Regions from separate parts of the Homo sapiens genome. Here region 2 is linked to region 1. Evidence: promoter capture Hi-C in human tissues and cell types (Jung and others, 2019). All regions are on one chromosome and are shown on one strand. Each heading gives the region's core, a stretch centred on a gene start or on the middle of the fragment in contact. The rest is flanking DNA. Distances are from core to core; before and after follow the strand shown.

Region 1 (5,494 bases), core at 1,901-4,400:
TCACAAACAGAACACATTCTTGAAATATATAATCAAAATTAAAAGTGTAGTGGAGTTAGGTTCTAAATTAGTGAAATAGGGCATTAAATGCCATGGATGCAAAATTACCCTTTGGAACACCCTTGAAAAATTCCTTAGGAAAAAGCTACATTTGGAAGCTTACCTACTACCCTCAGTAAGTCCAATACAGATAGCTTTTCTTCCCTCATTGAAATTAATCACTTTTTCTTCATATAAGCATTATTTATAGTTCAGTTGCTAATCAGGGGGCCATATTTTTTTAAAGTTTAATTAGATAATACAATCACTTAGAGTGGGATGAGATGCTGATATTAAGAGAAACATTTGATTGCTTTCTATTACATGCTTATTCTGAGGCATTCCAATGATGTAGAATGGTATGGGGAATTACTCAAACTTCACCAAGCACACATCACTGAATTCCCATAAGTTGAATGTGAAAGCAAAACAAATTAAATGAAGCTACTACTTATGACCATGGACTAATTAGCAGTGTTCTTTTTCCTAAACTGTATGTTTCAAGCCTTGTTGGGTTCTGAAATTAATTTAGATCTGGACAGCATTTTTTAAAGGAATAGAACTGAAAAAATATCAGCCCACACAGTATTAGGGCATGTATTCTTTCTGAAAATATATGTTTGTATATGTGTGTACTTACTAGATTGAGATACAAAATTTTACTTCGAGTTGTAATTTTCAGCAGTTTTAATGCTATGTATTCTTGGGTACTGTGATCTCTAGCTGAATAAATAAGCGGGAGAGTATACTTTAAAAGATATAAAAGTGAATATTTAATCACCTAAATGCTTTTTACAAAACAATTGGGAGTTCAATTACTATTTTTCCCCAAGATTCCCGAAGAGCAGGAGTCTGATTTGACTAAGATTTTTATGGTGCGGGATACTGCCTACAATTATATAAGAGTATTAATATTACAAAATCTAAGAGATCATCATTCTAGACTATTATGACCATCTCTGTATTCTTACATTTGCCAAGAGTATGTCAATCATTTTCCTAGTCTATATATGTCCGAGGTCACAAAAGCCAACACCATGTTTGGAGCCACATTTTTAAAGAATGTAAGTATTTGTGGGAAGAGGTTCATCAGGCTGTTTCCAATAGACTGACTTCCTTAACCAAGTCGGTCATAAAAAAGTATCTTAGCTCTTTAGCCAGCTAAAGGCCTAACTATGTGGGGAGGCAGAAGTGGGAGGAAAGAGTGCGGAAAATATGCCAAAGAGTGTCTTAGATTAGGACTCAGAGTATCAAAGGCCTTTATCATGGGTTCACATCTTAAAACTCCCCAAAGGGTGAGGTCTGCAGATGACAAATGCTTCAATTCATTGTTGTCATTTATTTATCCCTTTGCTCCTTATCCAACGAAGAACAGAAAAATGGTAAAACGAAAAGAGGGCACCATATTAAATGTCCCAACCTTGTTTAACCAAAGGCACATTCAATTTGAAGATGGTCCCATTTTTACACCCTTCACTCAGTCAGCAAGGACCTATAAAATGGGCAAAAGAATCCAACAGAACAAACTATGAGAGAATGAATTTCTGTAATCCCAGCACTTTGGAAGGCCAAGGCTGGCGGACCACGAGGTCAGGAGATCGAGACTGTCCTGGCTAACACGGTGAAACCCCATCTCTACTAAAAATACAAAAAATTAGCCAGGCGTGGTGGCGGACACCTGTAGTCCCAGCTATTCGGGAGGCTGAGGCTGGAGAATGGCGTGAACCCGGGAGGCGGAGCTTGCAGTGAGCTGAGACTGCACCACTGCACTCCAGCCTGGGCGACAGAGAATGAATTTCATGAACTGTTTTATTAAACTGATGATACTGTTCACAAAGTTACTTTGATGTTCAGCAGCTCCTAATTGGTTTCTAAGTTGAAGACAGAGTGACTTAAAGATCTACTGTTCAGTGAGTTTCCCACATCCAATCTCCCAACCCTATCTAAAGGTTCTGGTAAAATCAAAAGAGATGATGGTAAGGATGCAAAACTAAAGGAAAATTCAATCTCTTTGAACATGAGTATAGTCAAGTCCATCCTTACAAAAACTCTACAAACAGGAAAGTAATTTTAATGCAATTGATTTAGCAAATGTTTTTCACTGGCAAGATCACATGAAAATGTGATTTCTCACTCAAGGACCGCGGAATTACCATAGCTGGTTAATAAACAAGTACCAAGCATCATCTATTGTTAAGTTCCCGGCTCTGAGACTTTCTAAACGTTACTCGTCTGTGTTTACAACTTAAGTTTGACTGGGTAAAAACAAAGCCAAGTGTGGGTTTGAAATTTTAAAAACAGGCTCCTTCATCGATGGATTTTACTCTAACCGAAGTGTTTACACTTTCCTGTTCATTTCAACTAGTGGACTGCATGTCACTCCTGGGCCCCCGGCAGGTATCAGCTACCGTCACCACCAAGAACTTGGGCTTGGGGGGGAAGCGGAGAGGATGCGACTGCGAGTATCCAAGTGACCAAAACCAAACCCGGGCGCGGAGGCGAAGCCTGTCTGGCCGCAGTTCGGAAAGGGGCAGGGGCCCGGGTTTGGGGAGCCGGGCGCAGCCGCGTCCCTCCAGCCCCCGGCCGCGAGCGAAGCAGGGTGTGCATCTGCCAGGGAGCGTCGCTGGGCGGGGTAGGTCCCAAGGCAGAGGGAGAAAGGCGCGCCTCCCCACGGGTCCCGGCCCCGCTGTGGTGGGGAAAGGGGGACTGCGAGACTCCTCGATACCTGACACAGGGCCAACTCCTCCTTTAGGCTGCTCAGCTCTTCCTCCAGCAGCTGCGTCCGGGTCACCATCGCCTCCTCTACCGAGATGCCCTCTAGCCGTCTGGACCCCATGGGCGCGCTGAGGAGGGGAGCATGAGCCGGAGCTGCCCCCCCAGGCCCTCGCCGGCCCCCTGACCCTTCTTCACCCACCCAGATTTTATCACTTTCGTCCGCGACCACCTCCCGCGCTGCGCCGGCAAAACCCGAGGCCTCGCTGCGCATTGCGTGTACTTCAGCTCCCCGCCCAACACGTGGGGACCTGGGGCCCAGCTGTCGCGCTGGGGGCGAAGGGTGCGGTGAGGGAGGCGAACGCGCCGCCATGGCTGCGGCTGCTAACGGGTCAAGTTCCCTGTTGGAAACTCCACCTCCCTTTCCCCAACCCGGCGAGCCCGGAACGCCGAACCGCGCATGCGCGAGGCTTTTCCCGCCTTGGCCCGCGGTGTCCCGTGTTCTCTGGTCCTGGCCGGCTTCCCGCGGGCAATGCGCCCAGCGCGAGCCTTGGGGTACGCACGCGCCGTGGCCCGAAAGGGTAAGGCCGGTCCGCCGGGCAGGCCATCCCAGCGTCCTGTGCCTGAGTCCTTGGCCAGGATCGCCTGGATTTCCCGCCCACCTAAAGCCCTGCCTGCCACTTACATCCCACCTCTTAAAGCCTTCCTTGACAAGCCCCCAGCCCCAAATGATCCTTAACTGTGAAATCCCTCTCCTTCAAGGCCCCTGCCAACTCGTGTGACACGTTTCATTGACCGCCCTGGAGTGTCAGTTACACGGCTAATCTCCCCAGCCCTGTTGTAAGCTCCTTGAGGATCAAGGAATACGTTTTACACTTAAGTGTTTTCTTCACACCCCTTGGCAAAACTGCTTTAGTACAGCTGACATCCAGCTGACTAATGTCAAGGAGATGTGGAAAGCCTTGTGCTGATCTGGGACTATCAAGCAGGTTTCCAACTTGAATGATGATCCTTTGTACACCCTTTGTCTTTTGTTTTGCAGGAGTCATGATTTCCTTTGAGTTTTTATGTCAGCTTCTTTATGCGTTGGCTGGATATCAGAGGAAGTGTAGCCCACATTGCTGAACAGTTTGGGTCCTTGGAGCAGTTTGAAATCAGTAATTTGGAGCGTGGATGAAGAAACAAGACCTACTTTATCTTTTGTTCTCTTTTTTTTCTTTTTCTTCTGGCTTTCTTTATAAACTTCAAATAGGTAGTAATCGTATCTTTCTTTGCCCTTCAAATACTTTGTTACTATTGATAAGATTAATGAGATGCATATTGAGCTGGCACCAGAACATCCCTGAAAGTTAGAACTGCCCTCTTCTTCAGAAAGGGTTCCAGAATACTTGGGGAAAGCTGAGATGGGGGTTGAGAGCAGAAGTAGAGAGATGACCACTTTACTGTTAACTTCATTTAACCAAAATATCACCATCTCTGCATGAGAATCTAGTCAGGATGCCAAAAGACACCCTCCCAATTAGAATCCTGCCAAGGCAACCAAGATAAGTGGACTTCTTTCAAACTGAAGGTGAATTCCTCACAAAAACTTATTAAAGAGTACATTAGAAAAAGTATGTTTATAAGCCTGTCTTAGAACTAGCTAACCTACTGAACATTTACCATATGCTGAGTCCAGTGCTAAGCACTTTTCATATATGAACTCACTTAATACATATGTCACCTTCAATTAGATTATTATATATCTCCATTTTTACTAGTGAGGAAACAGACTTGCAAGGTTACTGTAACTTCTCTGAAGTGCCATGTCTGGTATCAGAAAAGCTAGGCTTTGAATTCACTGAATTCCACTTAACTCTGAAAACCTGTACTTTGATCGCTACCCTGTCTCCACACCTGTGACTTGAAATACAACATTTGGTCTTGATAGTCTGTGAGATTTCACTAGACTTAAGACTGGGAAGTCTAACCACATAAGTTACGTGTTTGGCCCCAAATCAGTATTAATGCACATTTTTAATTGCTGTATGTCATTCACTCAAAAGGACATCATTTCACCTGATCATAAAAAGATCCTTTTGAAAAGCAGTGGTATAAATATGTATATGTGACCTCCCAAAAGGATAATATCCTGACTCTTTGACTAGGCATTTTTTTAAATTTTGTCTTTATTGGAGCAAAATACACAAAATACACAACATAAAATTTACCATCGTAGGCATTTTAAATGGCTACAAATAGGCCAGGCGTGGTAGCTCACGACTGCAATCCCAGCACTTTGGGAGGCCGAGGCTGGTGGATCACTTGAGACCAGGAGTTCGAGACCAGCCTGGACAACATAGTGAAACCCCGTCTCTGCTAAAAATACAAAAATTAGCTGGGAGTGGTGGTGCATTCCCGTAATCCCAGCTACTAGAGAGGCCACGGCAGGAGAATCATTGGAACACGGGAGGCAGAGGTTGCAAACAGCCAAGATCATACCACTGCACTCCAGCCTGGGTGATAAAGCAAGACTGTCTCAAAAAATAAATAAATAAATAAAATGGCTACAAATAAAAAACAATTCAGCAGCATTAACTACATTCACCATGTTAGGCAACCACCACCACTATCTGGTTCCAGAATATTTTCATCACCGGAGGCGGAAACCACATACCCACATTAGTCTCTCCACATTCTCACTGCCCCCGAGCCCCAAGCAACCATTAATTCCCTTTATGTCTCTACGGTTTTGCCTGTTTGG
Region 2 (5,836 bases), core at 2,136-4,635, 43 kb before region 1:
AAAAAAGAGCATCATATTCCTCAGGTGTCTTCAGAGACCAGAGGGGAACCTAAACTTCTAAACTCTTCCGGCAGTAAATAGGAGGGGCTAACTCCTCCTCTGATAGAATGTCATCAGTGAAAGCCAGAGAAAATAGAAGGTTTAAATAAGATACAGAGTTCATAATGTAATACCCAAAGCATCCAGATTCAATCAGAAAATCATTTGTTATACCAAGAACCAGGAATATCTTGAATTGTTAACAAATCCACAGATGCCAACACCAAGATGACAGAGATGTCAGAATTATGTGACAACAATTTCAAAACAGCCATAATGAAAATGCTTCAATGAGCAGTTATGAAGGTAAAAGAAACAAATTGGAAGCCTCAGCAAAGAAACAGAAAGTCTAAGCAAAGAGACAGAAGATACAACGAAAAAACAAATACAAATTTTATGCCTGAAAAGTACAAAACCCAACTCAATAGATGGGCTCAACAGCCAACTGGAGAGGACAGGAAAGAATCAGTGAAAAGCAAAAGAGAACAACAGAATTTACCAAATATGAACAACATGGAAAATAGACAAAACGAACACCACCTCAGAGGCCTGTCAAAGATCTAATATTTACAACACCTGAGCCTAGGTAGAAGAGAAAGAAGGCAGGTCAATAAATATACAAAGAAACAGTGACTCAAAATTTATCAAGTTTGGCAAAAGACATAATCATACAGATTCATGAAGCTGAACAAACCCGAACACAATAATCTCAAATAAATCTATACCAAGTCATATCATACGAAAACTTCCAAAATCTAAAAACTAAGAAAAAATCTTGAAGATAGTGACACAGAAATACCATTATTACCTAAAAACAATGATTCAGATGACAGCAGATTTCTTGCTGGAAACCACCAAAACCAGAAGGAAGGGGCATGGCATTTTTCAAATACCGAAAGAAAAGAAAAGAATCAACGCACAATTCTATAATATAACCAGTGAAAATAATTTTTAGGAATTAAAGGAAATCAAGACATTCTTAAAAAATAGGAGGGGGGAAATCTAGGAATTGGTTGTCATGAGACCAAACAAAAAAGTATAGCTAAAGTAAGTTTTCTAAATAGAAAAGAAATTTTAAATGGAGGGATCCTGGAACATCAAGAAGGAAGAAGGAAAAGAGTAAAGGCAAAAATCTGCATAAATACAACAGACTTTCCTTGTCTTCTTCAGTTTTCTAAATTAGGTTTGATGGCTGAAACAAAAAGTATAATAATATCTTATGTGGTTCTAAATGTGGGTCAAAAAATATTCATGGCAACTATATTATATAGGGGAAAGAAAAGGAAAATAGAGAGAAAGGTTTCTATTATAAATGTCACTTAAAGTAGTAAAATATTGATACCAGTACACTGTGCTAAGTTATGTATATATAATATAATATAATATAATATAATATAATAATTAGAGCAACCACTAAAGATATATACAAAGAGATACCACCAAAACCAATACAGATAAATCAAAATGAAATTCTAAAATGCGTTCCAATAGCCAACAGGAAGGCAGGAAAAAAAAAAAAACAGAGATAGCAAACAGAAAAAAAAGCAAAATGACACACGTAAATGCTAACATATCAATAATCAAGCTGAATGTAAATAATCTAAAATATACAAATCAAAAGTGCTCAACAGAGTAGATTTTAAAATATGATGCAACTATATAGTAACTAAAAGAAACTCATTTCAAATATGGCAATATAGGTAAGTTGAAAGTAAAAGGAAGGAAAAAAGATATGTAATCATTCTTCAAAAGAAAGAAGAGTGGTTATATTAACATTGAATAAAGTGTACTTCAGAGCAAAGAAAATTACTAGGGAAAGTAAGGGACATTATACAATGATAAAAGAATCTACCAAGAAGACGTAGTGATCCTAAATGTGTACGTACCAACTTTAGACTTTAGAGCTCAAAATAATATACAGAAAAAAAACTGATAGAACTGAAAAGAGTAATAGATAAATCAATAATTATGTTTGGCAACTTCAAAATGCCTCTCTCAACAATGTATAGAACTAGCCAGTGAATTATCAAAGGTACAGAAGAGCTCAGCAACAAAATCAACCTATAGGATCTAATCAATATTTATGGAACAATCCACCAACATCAGCAAAATATATATTATTTTCAAATGCCCATAGATTTATACAAAGATAAACCATACTTTGGGCCACAAAACAAACCTTGTCAAATTTAAAGAATTTAAATCACAGAGTACATTCTCTGACCATATGAAATCAAACTAAAAATCTGGCAAAGGAAAAATCGCCAAACACTTGAAAATTAAATAACACATTTCTACATAATCCTTGGTCATACAGAGAGTCTCACAGGAAAGTTAAAAATACATAGAACTGAATAAAAATAAAAAGGCAGCATATCAAAATATGGGGGATGAAGTTAAAGCAGCTGAGAGGAAAATTTATAAAATTAAAGGTGTACGTTACAAAACAGGAAAAATCTCAAATCAATAATCTACACTTCTTCTTTTTTTTTTTTTTTTTTTTGAGACGGAGTCTCGCTCTGTCGCCCAGGCTGGAGTGCAGTGGCGGGATCTCGGCTCACTGCAAGCTCCGCCTCCCGGGTTCACGCCATTCTCCTGCCTCAGCCTCCCAAGTAGCTGGGACTACAGGCGCCCGCCACTACGCCCGGCTAATTTTTTGTATTTTTAGTAGAGACGGGGTTTCACCGTTTTAGCCGGGATGGTCTCGATCTCCTGACCTCGTGATCCGCCCGCCTCGGCCTCCCAAAGTGCTGGGATTACAGGCGTGAGCCACCGCGCCCGGCCAATAATCTACACTTCTGAGAGGTGACAGCGTGCTGGCAGCTCTCACAGCCCTCCCTCGCTCTCGGCGCCTCCTCGGCCTTGGCGCCCACTCTGGCCACGCTTCAGGAGCCCTTCAGCCCACCGCTGCACTGTGGGAGCCCTTGCTGGGCTGGCCAAGGCCAGAGCTGACTCCCTCAGCTTGAAGGCAGGTGTGGAGGGAGAGACGCTGGCAGGAACTGGGGCTGCCCGCAACCCTTGTGGGCCAGCGTGAATTCCGGGTGGGTGTGGGCTCGGTGGTCCCCGCACTTGGAGCGGCCGGCCAGCCGGCAGGCCCCGGGCAGTGAGGGGCTTAGCACCTGGGCCAGCAGCTGCTGTGCTCGATTTCTCACCGGGCCTTAGCTGCCTCCCTGTGGGGCAGGGCTCCAGACCTGCAATTCGCCATGCCTGAGTCCCCCATGCACCCCCCGCCCCCGCCCTGCTGTGGGATCCCGGGCAGCCCGAGCCTCCCTAACCAGCACCACTCCCTATTCCAGGGCGCCCAGTCCCATCTACCGCCCAAGGGCTGAGGAGTGCGGGCACAGGGCACGGGACTAGCAGGCAGCTCCACCTGCGGCCCGGGTGCGGGATCCACTGGGTGAAGCCAGCTGGGCTCCTGAGTCTGGTGGGGAATTGGAGAACCTTTATGTCTAGCTAAGGGATTGTAAATATACCAATCAGCACTCTGAATCTAGCTCAAGGTTTGTAAACATACCAATCAGCACCCTGTGTCTAGCTCAGTGCTTGTGAATGCACCAATCGACACTCCGTATCTAGTTAATCTGGTGGGAACTGGGAGAACCTTTATGTCTAGCTAAGATATTGTAAATACACCAATCAGCACTCTGTATCTAGCTCAAGGTTTGTAAACACACCAATCAGCACCCTGTGTGTAGCTCAGGGTTTGTGAATGCACCAATCAACACTCTATATCTAGCTAATCTAGTGGGGATGTGGAGAACTTTTGTGTCTAGCTCAGGGATTGTAAATGCACCAATCAGCACCCTGTCAAAATGGACCAATCAGCAGGATGTGGGTGGGGCCAGATAAGAGAATAAAAGCACCGCTGCCTGAGCCAGCAGTGGCAACCCATTCAGGTCCCCTTCCATACTGTGGAAGCTTTGTTCTTTCGCTCTTTGCAATAAATCTCGCTGCTGCTCACTCTTTGGGTCCACACTGCCTTTATGAGCTGTAACACTCACCGCGAAGGTCTGCAGCTTCAGTCCTGAAGCCATCGAGACCACAAACCCACTGGGAGGAACGAACAACTCCGGATGTGCTGCCTTAAGAGCTGTAACACTCACCGCAAAGGTCTGCAGCTTCACTCCTGAGCCAGTGAGACCACGAACCCACCAGAAGGAAGAAACTCCGAACATATCCGACCATCAGAAGGAACAAACTTCGGACACACCGCCTTTAAGAACTGTGACACTCACCACAAGGGTCCGCAGCTTCTTTGTTGAAGTCAGTGAGACGAAGAACCCACCAATTCCGGACACATTTCCACTTCAAGAAACTGAAAATAATTTTTTTTTTTTTGAGACAGAGTCTTGTTCTGTCGCCCAGGCTGGAGTGCAGTGGCACAATCTCAGCTCACTGCAAGCTCCGCCTCCCGGGTTCACGCCATTCTCCTACCTCAGCCTCCAGAGCAGCTGGGACTACAGGTGCCTGCCACCACGCCAGGCTAATTTTTTGTATTTTTAGTAGAGACGGGGTTTCACCATGTTAGCCAAGATAGTCTCGGTCTCCTGACCTCGTGATCTGCCTGCCTCAGCCTCCCAAAGTGCTGGGATTACAGGCGTGAGCCACCGCGCCCAGCCAAGAAACTGAAAATTATTGACAGAGATAACAACAAAAAGGAAATAATAAAAAGCAGAAATCAACATAATAGAAAACAGAAAAATAATAGAGAAAATCAATGAAACTAAGAACTTTTTGGAAGTGCAATACTTTGCAAAAACTTCTAGCAGACTGACAAGGGAAAAAAATAGGGAAAAGACACATCTGTTATCAATATCAAGAAACAGGATTATCAACAGACACTGCAGACATAAAACCATAACAAGAAAAAACTGTGAACAACGCTATACACATAAATTTGACAACTTAGAAAAACCAGTTCCTCAAGATGCACAAACTACCACACTTCACCAACATGAAATAGATAACTGAACAATCCTATAACTATTAAGGAAAGCGAATTGGCAATTTGGAAACTCCCAGAAAAGAACCCTCCAGGTTCAGATAATTTACTAAAGAATTCCACCAAATATTTGAAGAAGAATAACATCAACTCTACACAATTTGTTCCAGAAAACAGAAGAGAAAGCACCACTTCCTGATTCATTTTATGAAGCTACTTATCTCTGATATAAAAACCAAAGATAGTACAATAAAAGAAAGCTATACACCAATATCCCTCATGATTAGAGATGCAATCAATCCTTAACAAAACATTAGCAAATAGTATTTAGCAATGTATAATTGTACTCCACGACCAAGTGAAATTTATTCCAGTAGGCAAAGCTGGTTCAGTATTCAAAAATAAATCCATGTATTCCACCATATCAACAGTCTGAAGAAGAAAAATCTCCTGGTCATATCAAGTGATGCAGTACAAGCATTTCATGGAATCAAATGCCCATTCATGATAAAAAAAAAATTATCAGCAATCTAGGAACAGAAAATTTCCTCAACTTGATAAAAAAAAAATTTACAAAAAACTTGCAGGGACCATTTAGTGAAAGACTGATTTCTCTCTAAAATAGGAGCAGGGCAATGATGGCCACTCTCACCACTCTTACTCAACATAGTACTGGAAAATATAGCCAACACAATAAGGGAAAATAAAATAAAATAAAAGGCACACATATCAGAAAGGAAGAAATAAAACTCCACTTGCTTACAATTACAATAGATAATTACAATAGATAATTAACATGATTATGTAGAAAAATCAAGGGATCATTAAAAAAATAAAATCTTAGAAATAATAAGT

What was found. Contacts are between HindIII fragments. The study calls those that stand out against the background at their distance.
Region 2: a fragment that was not itself captured here is called in contact with the fragment with the promoter of CNTLN in region 1 in 4 of the 25 tissues and cell types used here (aorta, lymphoblastoid cells, pancreas and 1 more).

What each region holds. Positions count from the first base shown.
Region 1 is chr9:17,132,696-17,138,189 of GRCh38, reverse strand. It overlaps CNTLN (centlein), which reads right to left and starts at 3,150. Exons shown (of 26, transcript NM_017738.4): 1 at 2,765-3,150. The coding sequence starts at 3,124. RefSeq lists an enhancer at 2,306-2,869. The HindIII fragment of the contact is 19,584 bases long and covers 1-5,494 here.
Region 2 is chr9:17,175,950-17,181,785 of GRCh38, reverse strand. All of the region lies in intron 2 of CNTLN (centlein), which reads right to left. Among named protein-coding and RNA genes, the nearest start is that of CNTLN, 44 kb to the right of the region's middle. The HindIII fragment of the contact is 6,020 bases long and covers 376-5,836 here.